Regions from separate parts of the Homo sapiens genome. Here regions 2 and 3 are each linked to region 1. The links are contacts of gene promoters, found by promoter capture Hi-C in human tissues and cell types (Jung and others, 2019). All regions are on one chromosome and are shown on one strand. Each heading gives the region's core, a stretch centred on a gene start or on the middle of the fragment in contact. The rest is flanking DNA. Distances are from core to core; before and after follow the strand shown.

The links. The method cuts DNA at HindIII sites, captures the fragments that hold promoters and counts their contacts. A contact is called where the count stands out against the background at its distance.
Region 2: a fragment that was not itself captured here is called in contact with the fragment with the promoter of MSRB2 in region 1 in 1 of the 25 tissues and cell types used here (dorsolateral prefrontal cortex).
Region 3: a fragment that was not itself captured here is called in contact with the fragment with the promoter of MSRB2 in region 1 in 1 of the 25 tissues and cell types used here (lymphoblastoid cells).

The regions. Positions count from the first base shown.
Region 1 is chr10:23,093,623-23,097,078 of GRCh38, forward strand. MSRB2 (methionine sulfoxide reductase B2) reads left to right here and starts at 1,957. Exons shown (of 5, transcript NM_012228.4): 1 at 1,957-2,104. The coding sequence starts at 1,987. LOC107984215 (a long non-coding RNA gene) reads right to left here and starts at 1,657. Exons shown (of 3, transcript XR_001747394.2): 1 at 1,198-1,657. RefSeq lists a silencer at 1,765-2,234. The HindIII fragment of the contact is 14,874 bases long and covers 1-3,456 here.
Region 2 is chr10:22,224,794-22,228,249 of GRCh38, forward strand. It overlaps the pseudogene PSME2P6. Among named protein-coding and RNA genes, the nearest start is that of TRN-GTT2-3, 3.1 kb to the right of the region's middle. The HindIII fragment of the contact is 3,920 bases long and covers 1-3,456 here.
Region 3 is chr10:22,432,202-22,435,657 of GRCh38, forward strand. It overlaps LINC03027 (long intergenic non-protein coding RNA 3027), which reads right to left. Exons shown (of 1, transcript NR_036533.1): 1 at 3,224-3,456. Among named protein-coding and RNA genes, the nearest start is that of LINC03027, 4.0 kb to the right of the region's middle. The HindIII fragment of the contact is 7,336 bases long and covers 1-3,456 here.

The DNA of each region.
Region 1 (3,456 bases), core at 707-3,206:
ACAGAGGTACAGTACCAATGCTAGCTGGTTGCAAGTCCAGTCATCAGGATATTGTAATATTGATGTAAAAATAGACAAATTAATTAATGGGACAAAATAGGAAGTCCAGAAATAGACACAACACATTGATAGGAAACTGATTTTTGACAGATTCAAAAACAGTTCAGTGGAGAAAGAGTAGTCTTTTAAAAATTGGTGCTAGGAGCCAGGCCTGGTGGCTCACGCCTGTAATCCCAGCACTTTGGGAGGCCGAGGCAGGCAGATTACCTGAGATCAGGAGTTCAAGACCAGACTGGCCAACATGGTGAAACCCCGTCTCTACTAAAAATACAAAAATTAGCCAGACGTGGTGGCACACGCCTGTAATCCCAGCTACTCAGGAGGCTGAGGCAGAAGAATTGCTTGAGCCTGGAAGATGGAAGTTGCAGTGAGCCAAGATCGTGCCACTGCACTCCAGCCTGGCCGACAGAGACTCTGTCTCAATCAATCAATCAATCAATCAATAAAAATGGTGCTGGAACAACTGGATATAGATATGCAAAAAACAAAACAGATAAACAAAACAAAACAAAAATTTTGGCCATATATAAAAATTCTAAATCGGTCAGAGACCTAAATGTAAAACCTAGAACTATAAAAATTTTAGAACAAAACATAGGAGAGAATCTTTGTGATCTTGGATTAGGCAAAGATTTCTTAAATATGATACCAAAAAAAGAACAATCCATTAACAAATTGATAAATTGGGCTTCATCAAAATTAAAAACTGCTCTTCCCAAGACAATATTAGGAGACAGAAAAGACAAACAAGAGACTGGGAAAAAAAATCTTTGTAAAGCATATGTTTGATAAAAGATTTGCATCCAAAATATATAAAGTGTTCTAAGCTCAATAATGAAACAACTCAACATTAAATGGGCAAAAGATCTGAACGGACACTTCACCAAGGAAAATACACTCGCTGCAAATACGCACATGAAAAGATGCTTAACATCATTAACGATTAGAGAATGCATAATAAAGCCACAATGAGCTACCACTACACAGAACCGGAACATCTACAGTTAAAATCTCTGGACTTTCAAGTGTTGGCAAGGATGAAGAACAACTGGAACTCGCATAGACTGCTAGTGGGAAGGTAAAGAAAAAAACCACTTGGGAAAACAGTATAGTAGTTTCTTAAATGGTTACACCTACCTTACGACCTGGGCATTCCACTTCCAGGTATTTACCCCAGAGAGGAAAAACCGTATATGTCTGTACAAAGATTTGCACAGGGATGTTCCTAGCAGCTGTAGTTCTAATCAGGAAAAATTGAAAGCAGGCTAAATCAAGTGCTGACTAAACACACGGTGGTATATCCATAAATGGAATACTGCTCAGGAAGCAATGAATGATTGTTCCATGCAAAAACACGCAGGCATGTCAAAGTAACTATGTTGAGTGAAAGAAGCCAGACAAAATCAAGTACATATGGGATGATTCCATTTATGGACGACTCTAGAAAATGCAAACTAAAACAGATCAGTGTTTGGGCTGCGGATGAGTGGAGTTGGGATAGGTGGAGGGGGGCAGGGCGAGGGAGGAGCAGGAGTGGGAGGAGCTGGGAGATGCAGAGATGGGTTGGGGAGGGTCTCATGGAAGGGAAGGGAGAGAGGAAGGGGGAGAGGAAGGGGGAGGAAAGGCAAGGGGAAAAGGAGAGGAAGAGGGAGGGGGAGAGAGAGGCAGAGTGGGAGGAAAGAGGGGCGGGGACCTGGGAGGGCCCAGGGCACATAGTGGGAGGAGCAGGTGGGAAGGAGGGAAGGAGGGAGGGGCAGGGGAGGGAGAAGAGGGGGAGGGAGACGAGGGGACTGGCGGTGTGGGCGGAGCGTGGGGAGGGAGGCCGACTAGCGCAGGCGGACGGGAGAGAATGGGGGAGGGGTGGGATGGGAGCAGGGGCAGAGACGGGCAGAGGGCAGAGGGCGGAGCGGCGCCGGAGCGGGCGTCATGGCGCGGCTCCTCTGGTTGCTCCGGGGCCTGACCCTCGGAACTGCGCCTCGGCGGGCGGTGCGGGGCCAAGCGGGCGGCGGCGGGCCCGGCACCGGGCCGGGACTGGGGGAGGCAGGTAGGACGCGGGTCCCGCAGGCCCCGCCGCCGCCTACGGCTTTCGGCTTCATTTCACCGGCTGCACCCGGGAGCCTAGGGCCGGTCCAGGCCGGGCGCTGCCCTCCTACTAAGCCCTCCTCGGCGCGCCCCTCCCCCCCCCCAGCCCGAGGATCTGGGACAGTGGATTGTAAACTTGGTGGCGGCAGGGTGGGGACTGACCCCTGTGAGAATCCGAGGAAATGAACAAATGATCCCCCTAAATGTGCGCATAATTTTTTTTTTCTTGGCTCGGGGAGTGGGGGCATAAGTGGGGCTCGGGGGCCTCTGACCCCTATCGGGGACTCCAGGCGAAGGCCCGGGGCCTGGGCTGTAGCAGCCCGGCCCGCGCGCCCCTGCGAAGGCCCCTAGTATTTTGCATTGCAGCCCTCTTCGTAGTTCCGCGGGCTTCCTTCCAGCATCTGAGAAGCAGGCAGTTCAGACTTGGGGTTCCTGTGAGTGTTTCCTGCCCTGCTGACTTCCCATAAATGTGTCTAAGAGCCAGGGAGACTGGGTTGATCATTTGTTCCTTCTTTAAGGTGACAGCCATTGTTAATGACTGAGACAGAGACCAGGGCGAGCCTGTGTGTGTGTGTCTCTCTCTCTCTCTGTGTGTGTGTGTGTGTGTGTTTCTGCTAAATACTTTTGGATCCTCTCTTGGATCTGGGTACCTGCACATTTCACCAAGCAGGAAGGAGTCACCTCGGGAGACCTGTGCCAGCTACCCCTGTATTTCAGTTCTATTTCAGGGTAACTTAGTGCCCCAGGGGATTGGCTTCCTGGGCGGTTGCCAGACTGACCCACTCTGAATCCAATTTTATATGTGTTCATTGAAGACATTCAGAGATACCCAACTGATGAAAATGTACCAACTCATTCTGAGCTCTTTTTAGCCCCTGAAGTTTTCGAAATGCAATATTGAAAGAATACGTAACTAAATAAAAGCGTTGGCGTTGTGGAATGTTAGCTCATCCAACTTGACTTCCAGCTATGGCCTTTCTAATCACTGGTGTCTCTAGTCAGTCTGATGACATTTGCTGTGAGCCTACTGTGTGCCAAGCATTGTATTGCTGAGAACCACAGGTGATAGAAACAGGTCACAGTTACCGACGAGCTCTCTATAACCCCTTGAAAAAGGATGGTGGTTTTAGCGGTAACTACTTCATGGCTGTAATTGCTGCTGTCAGAAGCAGCCTAATGAATTGCCCTGGGATCTGAAGTTCTCCAGCAACAATAAAATTTGGCCAGCCACCAGTAGGTAACAGGAGCTGTGTACCTTATCAGACACCCCTCCTGGGAATCTATTCGAAGGAAATAGTTCAAAAGAAGAACAAA
Region 2 (3,456 bases), core at 521-3,020, 870 kb before region 1:
TTATTGAGTTCTCTTCTCCTACAGCAACTTTGATGATCAAGTGTCATCTTGGTTTTAAAATGTACGCTTTATTTCCGAAAATAAAATTGAGTTAACTTAAATGCCATAATCATTTCTAAAAGGTTGTTTTTGTTTTGTATCTTTGATGGAAAGGGGTAAGAGTACTTTTTATTTGCTTATAGGCAAAATTAAACCCTTCAAGTAAATAGCAAATTTCTCATATTTCCTGCCTTGATACCACACATTTTTTTCTTACCAAGTCTATCATAGATGGCTAGGTCATAAGTGAGTAGGCATGGAAAATTGATTTCTAATTTCTATTATTTTTTCTAATCTTCATCTGTAAGTATTCCTCTGATAGGGTGTTAAGGACTGAATGTTTCTGTCCCCACCAAAACATATATTCTGAAGCCCTAATTCCCTATGTGATAGAAGCTGGAGATGGGGCTTTGGAGAAGTAATTAGTGTTACATGAGGTGATGAGGCTGTGGCTCTCATGATTGGATTAGTGTCCTTATGAGTAGAATATCAGAGAGCTAGACATTCCTTTCCCAGGTGCATGTGCAAAAAAGGGGTCACGTAAGCACACAGCAAGATGGCAGCTTTCCGCAGTCGAAGAGAAGAGTCAGCAGAATAAAACCTACCTTGCTGGCACCTTGATCTCGGACTTTTCATCCTTTAAACTGTGAGAAATAAATTTTGTCTGTTGTTTAACCCACCTGGTCTGTGGTGTTTTTTTATTGTAGGCTGAGCAGAGCAGACTAAGACACAGGATTTAGTCTTAAATTTATTTTTCAATACTGATCGACGACAAGTTAAAAATTCACATTTTAGGGATCAGGTGTTGGATCCATGTAATCACCAGAATGCATTTCTCTTTAAGAGTCCAGACTTCTGGCTTAACAAGATTGAAGATGGAAATGATTTTGGGGTAGCAATCCAGGATAAGGTGTTGGAGAGGGTGAATGCCATCAAGACCAAAGTGGAAGCTTTCCAGACAACCATTTCCAAGTATTTCTCAGAACGTGGGGATGCAGTGGCCAAGGCCTCCAAGGAGACTCATGTAATGGATTACCGGGTCTTGGTGCATGAGCGAGATGAGGCAGCCTATGCGGAGCTCAGGGCCATGGTGCTGGACCTGAGGGCCTTCTATGCTGAGCTTTATCATATCATCAGCAGCAACTTGGAGAAAACTGTCCACCCAAAGGGTGAAGAGAAGCCATCTATGTACTGAACCCAGGACTAGAAGGAAAATAAATGATCTATATGTTGTGTGGATAAAAAAAAAAAAAAGAAAAAAAATCACATTTTAACCTAATAATCTGTATGTTTACAGTTTAAAACTTATATTTTGGTAACTGGTAAAAAAACATAAAGGGGGGTTCTGGGATGTTGATAATTGTTTACAAAGATGTGTTAACTTTGTAAAAATGTATTCAGTTGTACTCAATAATTCGTGTACATTTCTGTATTTATGCTTAATCGAAAAGTTCCCTTTTCAATCATATTTCAAACAATTAAAATATTAAGATTTTTCTTAAAAATGTAGGCTTTAAAAATAACTTAAGATTTAAGTATTTGGTGTGATCTATAGACATAGTTTATTCTCACCCTATTCCTGTAAGCTCAACACTTAGTTTCAACATTAAAAACATAAAATACACTGACATTACCAAAAGGGATTAACCCCAAGGACTTAAAATGAAATAATACAGTTGATAAAATTAACATTCTTACTTAATTAAAATGTTTCAAGTTCTTTAACTATTTTCTAGTTAAATGTATTATAGCTTATTCTACCCTCAATTCATTGCTGTTTTCAGTTGTAGCTATAAATTGAAGAACATTTTAGGCCCTGTGTCCATCAAAATTCAGAGAAATAAAAGTTCATATTTGCATTATTCATTATCATGTATTATGCATGCAGAAACAGAGCAGTTAGGTTTCTTCAGGCTTTTTTTCCTAAACTTTGCATTGCATGACATCAGACACAAGTGTTAGAAACGAAAGCAGAGACACGTTAAACCATGTGGCTTCCTCCTAGCCTCCATTATTTTCTAAAGAAACACTTGCATTATAAAAATACTTTAAATGAATGACTTCTATGACTTTTGTGACAGATCTTTAATTTTTATCTATTATCTGTTTTGTCCTTTTCTGAATTAGATGAATAGTACATTCTCTAATGAGTTTTTATTTTTAAATCATAGCAATTGGTTCACCTTTTATTATGTTACTTCAGTGAATTTCCCTCTGATTGTGTATACGCAGTTTAAGTATACAACTCTATTAGCAACATTAGGAACATATTTACATACTCAAATATACAACATAGCCTTTTAAATGCTATTCAGCCTTTAATTAAAGCTTTAAATGATCTTGACATATATCTAGGTTTGGCTGGTATTACAGAGCCCAGAAATTAAGGACAAAAAGATGCTCCTCAGAAATAGCATTTATTGCAACATCAACAACCATGACACGTTGAAATTTTATAAGGCCAATGCATCCATAAATATTTGTGCAATTCTTCCAAATTGTTGCCCACCTACCTTTTTTTTTTTCTTGAGACAGGGTCTCACTCTGTCACCCACGCTGGAGTGCAATGAAGTGATCACCATGCTGGGTTAATTTTTTATTTTGTGTAGAGATGCTGTCTCATTCTGTCGCCCAGGCTGGTCTCCAACTCCTGGGCTCAAGTAATCCTCCTGCCTTGGCCTCCTAAAGTGCTGAGACTACCGGTGTCAGCCACCCACACTGGGACCCACCTATCTTACCTGCCTGCAAGAGCCAAGGAAATGGCCTAAGCACTTGTCCACATAATCACAGCAACTGCTTCTGCTTACATTAGAGGGGAGTTTTGCACTCAGTGTGACACCTCCATTCCCATTTAATTCTCCTCCATTTTCTGGTCTCTAAATCATATTAATACCCAAAATAGGGTGAAATAGAATGTATTTAGAAATTTAAGATCAAATTTTAAACTGCCACCTAGGCCCCTGGTCAAGTACAAATTCTGGTACTATCTCACAAAAGTGTCCTGAAACAGGGGTCTACGTGGATGTGCCAATTCCCAAACATCAGCTTGGGGTCAAAGAATCCTTAGTCTCTAGACTCCATGGCCTGAATCTATCCTGAATCTGTCTCCTTCCAGATTTTGCCTGCCTCTCTCTCTCATCTTGCCTTCTGTACCTAAATGCTAACAAATTGTTTCCCTAAGACAGATTCCCCAGGAATACTTCCTATGCACACACAGCTTTCATTTGAATAAAATTGAGCAGCCCAATGAATGCATAATTTAACAATGCCCTTTAGCACGCCACAAATGTTGTGTTGGTTTTTATTTTACCCCCTTTACAAGATTTGGAGCAAAATATTAACGAAACTTCATAAAAACCAATTCAAGTATCTTTTGGTTTCAAATTAACTAATTAGGTAGCTGTATTTTAGAGGAAG
Region 3 (3,456 bases), core at 344-2,843, 660 kb before region 1:
ATCACGGTTCATTCATATAACTGTACTTAACCACTACGAAAAATTTTGGTAGGTCTATATGTGCTGATGTGGGAAGATGTACAAAGTACTTTATGAAATTAAAAAATAAAAAGCAGGCCAGGTGCAGTGGCTCACACCTGTAATCCCAGCATTTTGGGAGGCCGAGGCGGGTGGATCACCTGAGGTCAGGAGTTCAAGACCAGCCTGGCCAACATGGCGGAACCCCCTCTCTACTAAAAATACAAAAATTAGCTGGGCATGGTGGCGTGCACCTGTAATCCCAGCTACTCAGGAGGCCTTCAGAGAGAAGGTGTAAAGTTAATTTGGCTGTCTTACCAGTACCATTATTATTTTTATAAAATCTTATTAAAAGATACGATGTTGGCTATCAGTTTAACATTTACTAAAAGTTTTTAAAAAATATAGTTGTTTTAATTGGGAATAGGTGCTAGATTTTTATCACTTATCGAGATAATAAGGTTTTTATTCTTATATAATCTAAATGTATTTTTATATAAACTATTTTCCTGGTATTGAAATATCCTGGCATTTCTAGGATAAAATCTACCTGATTGTTTAAAATGACTGACTTTATTGAATTTAATTTGCTGGCATTTTTGGTATTTTGGGGGGAATTCTGGCATTGAGTTTCTTATGTGAACTTTTATTTTTTGAGTGCCCTTTCTTTTTCTTTTTTTTGAGACGGGGTCTTGCTCTGTTACCCAGGCTGGAGTACAGTGATGAGATCATGGCTCACTGCAGCCTTGACCTATCAAGCTCATATGATCCTCCCACTTCATCTTTCCGAGTAGTTAGGACTGCAGGAGCCTACCACCAGCCAGGCCCAGATAATTTTTTACTCTTTGTATAGATAGGGTCTCTTGGAACTCCTGGGCTCAAGCGATCTTCCCCCCTTAGTTTCCCAAAGTGCTGGGATTACAGGTGTGAGCCATCATGCTTGGCGTATACCATTTTTGATAGGTTTTATAATAAAAGTGGTTTCACTCACAAAAAACTTAAATTTTAGTGTCTTTATTCATTTAGAAAGGGGATTTTATGTCTTTCAAAATTTGCAAGAATTTGCCTAAAGCCTCTCTTGGTCTTTAGGCGTTTTAAAATTTCTCCCCTAGCTTTGATCTACTTAGTTTTTCTACTCCTAGATTCAATTTGGGTGATTTATGGTTTTCCAGAAAAAAATGTTTAGCACATAGCTAATTTCACATAGCAGTCTCATATAATTTATAAAAAGTCTCCATGGCAGATCAGGAGGTCAGAAGATCAGGATCATCCTGGCTAACGCAGTGAAACCCCGCCTCTACTAAAAAATACAAAAAATTAGCCGGGTGTGGTGGCGGGCGCCTATAGTCCCAGCTACTTGGGAGGCTGAGGCAGGAGAATGGCGTGAACCTGGGAGGTGGAGCTTGTAGTGAGCTGAGATTGCACCACTGCACTCCAGCCTGGGCAACAGAGCAAGATTGTCTCAAAAAAAAAAAAAAAGTATCCATATCTGTTATATCTCCTTTCTCCTTTATATTTTCTTTTCTTTTTTTTTTTTTTAAATAGATTCATCAGCGATTTCTCCATTTTCTTGATCTTTTTCCAAAGAATTACCTTTGGAGTTGATCAAAAACATTGTTTCTAATCATTAATTTCTGCTCCAAAGTTTCCCTAATCCTCCATTTCTTGGAGTTTAATTTTTAAAAAACCATTAATCAGTTCACTTATTTTTACTCTTTCTAGTTCAATTTTTCCCTGCCAAATGATGTTACTAAACTCAGTGTGGTTTCAAATGACTTGAGTATTTCTAAAAATCTGCTCTCCGAGGAGGAAGATTTGCTATCACTGATGATGTCATTTAAAAGAATGTGACTCAGACTCTTGTGGCAAATTTCTAAAGAATTCTAAAAATGTTTGAGTAATGGGAACACAATTGCAGCAAGCTTATGACCTACTCTGAAGGAGCCAATTTGTAAAACCTGCACGTTTGCTGAACATTATCTGCCCTTATATATTTAGAAATAATCAAGTGCTAGGAATTAAAGAGGAGCTCTCACTTTTGTTTATTGGGATGCCTTCTGATACTGCATGTCTATGACCCAAGATATTCTTAATATTTTTCTTTTTGTGAAAATGTATTTAAACACATCATGTGTACAGCCTGGCTTCATTTTTGCTCCCAACAGAAATTAATCTCAGATGAAACATTTTTCAAAAAAAGATTAAAAACTGTTCACATGCTAGGATGACCAAGTTTTCCTTGCAAAAACCAATTCACTATGATGATGTGGATGAAGGCAGAATGTGTTATTAAAAATAATTAAGTGCTCTGATAGGCCACAATTATAAGCGATAAAAATATTCTCTAATAAAATGTATTGTGCCAATAGAAAGGTAGATTGCAGGTGTGACCTTTGGCAAGGTATGTAGTAGAACTTATTAGAGCCATGTGTTTGTAGATTATGTAACAGTTTTTAAGTGGTCAGGAAGGGGAGGATTTTGTGGTCAGAAAAGTGGAACTGCCCTATTTAACATATGACCCTGGCCATTCCCATCCCAAATTACTGTTGATCAAGTTACAGATAGTTGGGAAGCCCAGGTGAAAGGGAAGCCTAGAATAAGGCCCGACAAAATTGCAATAAACAGTAGGCCACAAAGCCAGTGGCCATTATCATTAAAAACACTTACTGAAGTATTTAATATAGAAAATAATGTCAAGAAAAATTGTTTTGCAAAGCACTATGAACCAGAAATCACTTAAAAAGGCTTTAACATATCCTCCCCTGATGTCTTTAGGAAAGCTAGAACATGACCAAAAACATAAGTAGACCTCCCCAGACTAACAGCTTTATGATCATTATTTGAAAGCATTTTGTTTTGCATTTGCATGCATCTCAGGTTTAAGTTTCCAAATTTTTAAAGCATTTAAGTGCTAATGCTCTAGGAATTTACTCTTGAGAATAAACACCACTAGGAACCAATAAATGGAAGCCCAAACTTTTACTGTCTCTAGCAACTTCAAACAGGGGCATACCTATAAAAATTTATATATTCAGCATTGGTCTCAATTGGGTTGCCTTTTACAGAAGCACTTTAATGGGACAGTAAACCAGAGCCCAGAGGAAACAAAAATCCTAATTTTGTGTTGTGGTTGCCAAATTTTCAGAAAAGCACAGATCTAAAGCCCAAAGGCTGCTAAATTGATTCACATGAACAGAGCCTGAGGCCAAGTTTAAGTGCGAAGATTTTATTAGGCGGTACAATTCCAAGGTGGTAAGGGTGAAAGGAAAGGCGAAGGCAGGCAAATACATTATTGAGCTGAAAACAACTTTACATTCAAGGACAGCTTCCAGACAAGCCATGTAGAACCAGCATGCCTTGGGACTGTGTGGATGGCAGGGAGACGAGTTTCTATGCTGACCACTTCATGCTTTCTGCCCCCTTTGGGGAAAGTATGCC